Linked DNA regions of Homo sapiens: regions 1 and 2 are each linked to region 3. Evidence: promoter capture Hi-C in human tissues and cell types (Jung and others, 2019). All regions are on one chromosome and are shown on one strand. Each heading gives the region's core, a stretch centred on a gene start or on the middle of the fragment in contact. The rest is flanking DNA. Distances are from core to core; before and after follow the strand shown. Region 1 overlaps CECR2 (CECR2 histone acetyl-lysine reader). Region 2 overlaps ATP6V1E1 (ATPase H+ transporting V1 subunit E1). Region 3 holds the start of IL17RA (interleukin 17 receptor A).

Region 1 (2,859 bases), core at 165-2,664, 360 kb after region 3:
TCATTTCCTTGAGAAGAATTTGATGCAGCCAGGTGTGGTAGCTCATTGCGTGTAACCTCAGCACTTTGGGAGGCTGAGGTCAGAGGATTGCTTGAGGCCAGGAGACCAGTCTAGGTGACAGAGCGAGACCCTGCCTCTAGAAAATAATAAATGAACTCATGAATTGGATGCCATAACAGTTTAATTGGTTCAAGAGCCTTGCTGTTCAAAGTGCAGTCATCTCTAAGTTTCCATGGGGGATTGATTTCAGGACCCCTGTGGATACCAAAATTCGTGGATGCTCAATTTCCTTATATAAAATGGTATAGTATTTACATATAACCTATGCACATTCTGCTCTATACTTTATTATTATTATTATTATTATTATTATTATTATTATTATTATTATTATTTGAGGCAGAGGCTCACCCTGTCGCCCAGGCTGGAGTGCAGTGGTGCAATCTTGGCTGACTGCAATCTTGGCTGACTGCAACCTCTGCCTCCCAGGTTCGGGCAGTTCTCCTGTCTCAGCCTCCTGAGTAGCTAGGATTACAGGCGGGCACCACCATGCCTGGCTAATTTTTGTATTTTTAGTAGAGATGGGGTTTTGCCATGTTGGCCAGGCTGGTCTCGAACTCCTGACCTCAAGTGATCCTCCTGCCTCAGCCTCCCAAAGTGCTGGGACCCTGCACCTGGCCACTGCTGTATACTTTAAACCATCTCTAGATTACACAATGTAAATGCTATAATGCTATATGCATAGCTGTTACACCATGTTGGTTTTTTATTTGTATTATTCCCGAATGTTTTCTGTTCATGGTTGGTTGAATCTGCCAGCATGGGCCCTGTGGATGTGGAGGGTGAACTGCACAGTCCTTGGATCAATGGTGCCAGCATCACCTAGGAGCTTGTTTACAGATACCTCACTCCAGACCTAGATGAATCAAAATAGCCATTAAAAAAAACTCAGGAGGTGCTTTCTGTGCACACTGAAAAACACTGTTCTGGAGCAGTAGTTGTTTTATTTTAGCTACACTTAAAAATCCCAAGTCAGGTGTTGCGGCACATGCCTATAGTCCCAGCTGTTCAGGAGGCTGGGGCAGGAGGATTGAGTGAGCCTAGGAGCTATGATTAGCTATGATTGTGCTGTGTCCAGAGTTGGTTCCTTCCGGTGGGTTCTTGGTCTCACTGACATCAAGAACGAAGCCACGGAACTTAGCGGTGAGTGTTACAGCTCTTAAAGGTGGTGTGGACCCCCAGGGCGCGGTGGCTCTTGCCTGTAATCCCAGCACTTTGGGAGGCCGAGGCGGGCGGATCACGAGGTCAGGGGATCGAGACCATCCTGGCTAACACGGTGAAACCCCGTCTCTACTAAAAATACAAAAAATTAGCCGGGTGTGGTGGCGGGCGCCTGTAGTCCCAGCTACTCAGGAGGTTAGGAAGGAGAATGATGTGAACCTGGGAGGTGGAGCTTACAGTGAGCTGAGATCCTGCCACTGCACTCCAGCCTGGGTGACAGAGCGAGACTTTGTCTCAAAAACAAAACAAAACAAAAAGGTGGTGCAGACACAAAAGAGTGAGCAGCAGCAAGATTTATTATGAAGACCGAAAGAACAAAGCTTCCACAAAGGGGATGCGAGCAGGTTGCCGCTGTGAGGTGGCCAGCTTTATTCCCTTATTTGGCCCCGCCCACATCCTGCTGATTGGTCCATTTTACAGAGCGCTGATTGGTCCATTTTACAGAACACTGGTGCATTTTTACACAGTGCTGATTGGTGTGTTTACAGTTCTTTAGCTAGACACAGTGCCGATTGGTGCATTTTTACAGAGTGCTGAGTGGTGCGTTTACAATCTTTTTTTTTTTTTTTTTTTGAGACAGAGTCTCGCTGTCTTGCCCAGGCTGGAGTGCAGTGACGGGATCTCTGCTCACTGTAAGCTCCGCCTCCCGGGTTCACGCCATTCTCCTGCCTCAGCCTCCCGAGTAGCTGGGACTACAGGTGCTGGCCACCATGCCCGGCTAATTTTTTGTGTTTTTTAGTAGACGGGACTGCAAGCTCCGCCTCCTGGGTTCTCGCCATTCTCCTGCCTCAGCCTCCCGAGTAGCTGGGACTACAGGCACCTGCCACCACGCCCAGCTAATTTTTTGTATTTTTTAGTAGACACGGGGTTTCATCGTGTTATCCAGGATGGTCTCGATATCCTGACCTCGTGATCCACCCACCTCGGCCTCCCAAAGTGCTGGGATTACAGGCGTGAGCCACCGTGCCCGGCTGTTTACAATCCTTTAGCTAGACACAGAGTGCTGATTGGTGCGTTTACAGTACCACTGCACTCCAGCCTGGGCAACAGAGCAAGAACTTGTCATTCATTCATTAGTTCATTCATAAATAGTAATTAATAAAATAAAATCACATAGGAGTAATAAATAAAATAAAATCACATATTATGCCTGAGTCCCATGCCCAGAGACTTAAAAAAAAAAAAGAAAAGCCGGGGGTCGGGGGCGGTGGGGGGCTTTAGTTTACTCATTAGGATCTAAAAAGTTCTCCGTGGCAGTTTTAGTGTGCAGCCAGGATTGAGAACAATTGTTCAGAGCCCTGTTGTCCAATGTATTAGCCACTGGCAGCTGTGTAAGTTTACCTTAAATAAAATGTAAAGATTAGTTCTCTAGCCATGGTAGCCACATTTCAAGTGTTTTTTTTTTGTTTGTTTGTTTTTGTTTTTAAGTGGCTATGTGGCTCGTGGCTGCTGTGTTGGACAGTGCAAATAGAGAACAGGTACAGGTCCATTAGAGCAATTTCCATCTTAATACTTTGAGATAATGTTGGGTAACAATTTTTTAGAGAGTTTTAAGGAATGGATTTACACTATTTTTAA
Region 2 (2,810 bases), core at 236-2,735, 510 kb after region 3:
CGCTCTGTCGCCCAGGCTGGAGTGCAGTGGCGCATCTCCGCTCATTGCAAGCTCACGCCATTCTCCTGCCTCAGCCTCCCAAGTAGATGGGACTACAGGTGCTTGCCACCATGCCTGGCTAATTTTTTTGTATTTTTAGTAGAGACGGGGTTTCACCATGTTAGCCGGGATGGTCTCGATCTCCTGACCTCGTGATCCACCCGCCTCGGCCTCCCACAGTGCTGGGATTACAGGCGTGAGCCACCAAGCCTGGCCAGAGTGCTGCACATCTTAACCACAGGTGGAAAGCCATGAACCTCTATGTGGCTGGGAAGGACTCACAAAGCCACGCACATCAAAGCCACCCTCTCCTTCCCTGAAGCAAGTAACACATTCCTTGGTGAGAAACTTAACTCATCCCAAATCTGGGGTTCAGACTGCTTACAAAAGGGACACATTAAAAAAAAACAAAACAAAAAAAAACCTAAAGTCACTACTATCTCAGACTTAACTCATCATAATCATCTCACCACAATATGCTGGGTCACCTACACTCTTTCTTCAACAAACATTTACTGAGTGCCTACTATGGCCACAGCAGCTGCAAAGAACACTTCCAATGCCAGCTTAGGCTGGAAGCACTTGCTACAGCCACTGATGAATCCTTAGGAGAACTTAACCCTGGACTTCCAAGGCTCGGCTGTCCAACAGGGCAGTCCTAGCTACAGATGGTTATTGTGTGCTGAGAAACTGAATTTTTCGGTTTAATTAAATATCCGTAAGTGAGTAGTGGCTATGATACTGGATGGGACAGTGGCTACTAGGAAACAATGTTCTGAGGTTTAAGTTACCAGAATATGAAAAAATCAAGGTGAAAGTGCTTTAGTTATAAGACAAGTATCTGCATAAACAGTAAACTGCATATCTAGGTCAGGGAATAACTAGGTTGGCAGCCACAGCAATAGACTCCCACTAGAAGTCTAGAAGATGCCCAGCATTTTAGAACAAATGGAATTTTCCTGGCTTGTTTCCTAGAGTTCCTGTGTACAAATCTGGAAACATCTGAAAAGCCAGCAGCTTTATGATAATTCCTTTAAATAAGTATTTGTGTCTGAGCACGGTGGCTCACACCTGTAATCCCAGCACTTTGGGAGGCCAAGGCGGGTGGATCACCTGAGGTCAGGAATTTGATAACAGCCTGGCCAACATGGTGAAACCCCGTCTCTACTAAAAATACAAAATTAGCCGGGTGTGGTGGCAGGTGCCTGTAATCCCAGCTACTCGGGAGGCTGAAGCAGGAGAATCGCTTGAACCTGGGAGGTGGAAGTTGCAGTGAGCCAAGACTGCACTCCAGCCTGCGCAAAAAAGAGTGAAACTCCATCTCAAAAAAGCAAAACAAAACAAAAAAACACAAGTATTTGCTTTAGTTCCCATCACTCCTGTTAGAGAAAGAACTTGTCAGCACCTTACATGTAGTAAAATGTACATATTCGAATCCTAGGTCAACAAAACACTTGTTCTGACCCCAAATTCACCCTCATGTAAATGTTACCACCTCAGCAAATGCTACTACATGCCCAATTCTCATTCTTTTTGAGAAAATGTCCAAAACTGGAAAGACAGCAACAAATCCCAAATACCAGTGAATGGACACGTGTTCTCTGTCCCACTTCAAAGTAACAGCAGACCAACTACCAAGAAGTACCCCCACACTCACCTGCTGGGCTATGAGATCCAGCCGGCTTTCCAGGGTGTTGGAAACCTTTATTTTACGATCTCCATTATAGATCTCAACTCCACCAGCTCTGCAAAAAAAAAAGCACAGGAAATAATCATTTTCAAAGACTTGAGAAAGATACATGGTACCCTTTACTCCCGCAGAGGAATGCCCTTGTCTTGGTGTGTAGACTGCGCAACCTAAGCAACAGGCTTGAAAGGAACTGAAAAAGCTTCTGAAGATGTAACGCACAGTTGGTTTCAGGAAACCCCAGTCCCCGCCTAGATGTCCATTATATGAAACAGCGTAGTATTTGCATACAACCATCACACATCCTCCCCTATATTGCAAATCATGTCTACAGCACTTAAAATAGCTAATACGATGTAAATGGTTGTTATACCGTAGTGTTTAGGGAGTGAAAAGAAAAAGTTGGTTGAATTCACAGGTGTGGACCCCAAAGATACAGAGAACTGACTGTATTCATCTCAATAACTGTCATTTACCAAGTGACACTATGTGTCAATTTGTTTTGTTTTTTTTGAGACTCGCTCTGTTGCCCAGGCAGGAGTGCAATGGTGCGATCTTGGCTCACTGCAACCTCTGCCTCCCGAGTTCAAGCAATTCTCCTGCGTCAGCCTCCCCAGTAGCTGGGATTACAGGCACCTGCCATCACGCCTGGCTAATTTTTGTATTGTTGTAGAGACGGGGTTTCACCATGTTGGCCAGGCTGGTCTTGAACTCCTGACCTCAGGTGATCCGCCCACCTCTGCCTCCACAAGTGTTGGGATTACAGGAGTGAGTCACCGCGCCCAGCCTGTGTCAATTTGATTTTATGTTACAAAACCTGTTTTAATTATCACAGCCAGCCCTCCCCAACAAAATGAAAAAGAGAGGATTTCATCTCAGTTTGCAAATCACTCAATCCTCATCTGAATGTTTTCTTAAGCCCAATCCTGCTCATTACTGATGAGGCCCTATCACGACTGCATGTGTGTCTGATAAAAGATGCCACTGCTGGCCGGGCGTGGTAGCTCACCCCTGTAATCCCAGCACTTTGGGAGGCCGAGGTGCTCCCAAACTCAAGTTTGAGGCCAGCCTGGCCAACATGGCG
Region 3 (2,929 bases), core at 323-2,822:
ATATTCTATTGTTAGAACCAAGCCTCTGGGTCCATCCCACACTCCGCGAGGAGGATTCAGAAGGTCGTGACTCCCAGGGGGTGGGATCCTAGAACACATCTTAGAAGCTGCCTACGACAACCGCTGATTTTTAAGTAACAGTTACATCCTCTACATCTATTTAGACTTAGGATGGAGAATTTTAGATGTCATCTTTAAAATGCATGAGAGGATGCAGTTTTCCAAAATTCTTTTAGAAACAGACAATTTGAAGGCCACTGAGCTTCAGGCTTCATTCAGCTGGGTCGTGTCTGCGGGCGGGGCTCATAGAGATGTCGCTGGGGGTCAGCGGGTGCTTCGGGCAGCGAAAAAACCCACCTCTCGAGGGCAGTGGAAAATACAGGGAAAAGCCACTTGAGTGTAGACTCCGTGCGTGTCAAGGCCAGGCAGAGGCGCACTTGATAGGCAAGGAAAAGCGGACGGTGGTGGTCTTGGGAGGAAGAGAGGAGAGGCGAATGGGCAGGAGCGTGTGGATGCACTAGGGCAGGACGGGCTCGAAGCAGGAACCTAGGATAGAGGCAGCGCGGGCCGGCTTGGGAGGGTCCTCCAGGGTCCGGAGAGGAGAGGACGCAGGCTGCACGCGTGCTAAGAAGGAGACTCATGAAATGTGTAATTCGCTGGCGACAGCTTCCGCGGCCGTGGAGTGAGCCTCTGGGAAGTAACGACTCTCTTAGGTGCGGCTGGGACACAGTCTCACAGACCAGGTAAGTTGCCTGCCCTCCAGGAACTCAAGTGTCCCCGAGTCCGAGCCAGGAGGCTGGAAGTGACTGCTGTCCCATCCTCCCTGGAGCCCGGAGCTGTCCTTGTCTTGAGAAAGAGAAAGCAAAGCCAAGGAAAGCAGAGCGAGCAGAACCAGGCAAAGGGGTGGGGACAATAAAATGGGATATGGCCCGCGCTTCCATCTACTCAGGAGGCAGAGGCAGGAGGATCGCTTGAGCCCGGGAGGCCGAAGCTGCAGTGAGCTGCGGTTGCACCACTGCACTCCAGCCTGGGAGACAGAGGGAGACCCTGTCTAAAAATAAAGTAAAATAAAAAACAAAAATAAAAGGGACAGAGACTAAGAAAACGGACTTCCTGAAATCCCAAGTTGGGATTTCACGTCCAGTGACCCACAAGAGAAGCAAGAAGTCTGAACAGGGCCAAGAATCAAGTGAGTGGGGGCGGAGGATTAAAATCGACAGTTGCTGCGGCACGGCCAGGGTGGAGGGTGCATGTGGGGCAGGCGAGGCTCCAGCTGGAGTTGACGCTAGCCCGACGCGGGTGCAACTGGAGGCGCGACGGGCCAGGCCCAGGAGCAGCGGGAGGAGCGCACCTGGGGCGCGCGGGCGGAGGAGGGCCGGGGAGGGACGCCGGAAGGACTGGGTAGGGACGCCCGGAGGACTGAGCGTAGGGCCGAGAGGAGGGGCGCAAGGAGGAACGGGGGGAGGGCCCTGTCTCACCCTAAACCCCTCCCCGTCCCAGACTAAACTCCTCCCCTCGGCCCGGCCCGCCCCTGGGCCCGGGCTGGAAGCCGGAAGCGAGCAAAGTGGAGCCGACTCGAACTCCACCGCGGAAAAGAAAGCCTCAGAACGTTCGTTCGCTGCGTCCCCAGCCGGGGCCGAGCCCTCCGCGACGCCAGCCGGGCCATGGGGGCCGCACGCAGCCCGCCGTCCGCTGTCCCGGGGCCCCTGCTGGGGCTGCTCCTGCTGCTCCTGGGCGTGCTGGCCCCGGGTGGCGCCTCCCTGCGACTCCTGGACCACCGGGCGCTGGTCTGCTCCCAGCCGGTGAGACTCGACGTGGGGAGCGGTAGCCGCCAGGATGCTGCGGACGCGGGGCAAGGTCGCGGAGGGCCGGACGGTCGGGACTACGCGCCCGGGCTGGGGAGGCAGGAAGTCCGCGCCGCGGGCTTAGAGGGGCTCAGAGCCTTGGGCACAGATATCGCGGCGCCTGGGGAGGACCCTCGGAGCGGTGGGAGTTGCGGTGTGGAATACGGGGGGGGTGGGTGGCACATCGCGCGGCGCGTGTTGCACAACCTGGCCCGCCGTCGTGACTGGAGGCGGGAGTGACACCTCCGCCCGGGCCGCGGAGTTCGGGGAAGGAGGGCGCGGCGCTGGGCCAGGCCGGAGGGGCGGCCAGGGCTGATAGAAAGGGGCTGTGGAGAAGGGGCCCGGGGAGGAGCCAGGACGGGTCTGGACCCAGCTCCACGCCTTGCGCCCCTCACGTACCCCGGCGGGGCACGGTCGGCCCTCGGGAGGCCCATCGCGCCCTCGGGAGCTTCCCTCAAGCCGTGCCCTTCATGCCGCCGACGGAGCCGGGCGAGCCCACGTCGTCCGTGCGGAAGGTGGAGTCCCTCACCCGCGGCCCCCAGAGGGACCCCGCTGTCGTAGAGCCACGCGGGGGCCGGAGCGCTGAGACGCGGCACCATGTTTCGGGGAGAGCTCTGCCGAGGGCGGCTGAGGGCCACCTCCCCAGAGGCGCGAAGCCCTGAGGATGGGCAGATGGTTCTTAAGACGGCGCCCTTCCCGCCACTCCCACCCCCGACTACCACCACCTGGGTCTGGGAACCCGGTGAGAGCGCAGTCGGAGGGTCGAACGTTTGTAGCTGTCAAGTCGTAGCCCCGCTGCGCCCACAGGAAGTGACCCACCCGCCTGCCGGGTAGTGGCCTTTCTGTGAGCCAGGACCATCTTAAGGAAAAAAACAAAAAAAGAGCAAAACGCCGTGCCCCTCCACAATATACTCTCCTCTTCCCCGCATCCCCGAGGGGATCTTTCCTCCCCTCCACCTCCACCTCCACCTCCACCGCTGACCCCAAGGAATAATGCTCAGTATCTGAGTCAGAGGATGTAAAACAAAGGGATATTTCTCCTTATGTAGTTTTATGGAGGATTTACCGAAAGAAGGTGGAGGGTG

Evidence for each region. Contacts are between HindIII fragments. The study calls those that stand out against the background at their distance.
Region 1: a fragment that was not itself captured here is called in contact with the fragment with the promoter of IL17RA in region 3 in 1 of the 25 tissues and cell types used here (lymphoblastoid cells).
Region 2: a contact is called between a fragment that was not itself captured here and the fragment with the promoter of IL17RA in region 3, in 1 of the 25 tissues and cell types used here (spleen).

The regions. Positions count from the first base shown.
Region 1 is chr22:17,445,199-17,448,057 of GRCh38, forward strand. All of the region lies in intron 1 of CECR2 (CECR2 histone acetyl-lysine reader), which reads left to right. Among named protein-coding and RNA genes, the nearest start is that of CECR2, 77 kb to the left of the region's middle. The HindIII fragment of the contact is 6,148 bases long and covers 1-2,859 here.
Region 2 is chr22:17,592,833-17,595,642 of GRCh38, forward strand. ATP6V1E1 (ATPase H+ transporting V1 subunit E1) reads right to left here. Exons shown (of 9, transcript NM_001696.4): 8 at 1,697-1,784. Among named protein-coding and RNA genes, the nearest start is that of SLC25A18, 31 kb to the left of the region's middle. The HindIII fragment of the contact is 3,516 bases long and covers 1-2,810 here.
Region 3 is chr22:17,083,428-17,086,356 of GRCh38, forward strand. It overlaps IL17RA (interleukin 17 receptor A), which reads left to right and starts at 1,573. Exons shown (of 13, transcript NM_014339.7): 1 at 1,573-1,802. The coding sequence starts at 1,665. RefSeq lists an enhancer at 633-802 and silencers at 1,356-1,575, 1,596-1,715, 1,966-2,065, 2,106-2,355. The HindIII fragment of the contact is 17,220 bases long and covers 1-2,929 here.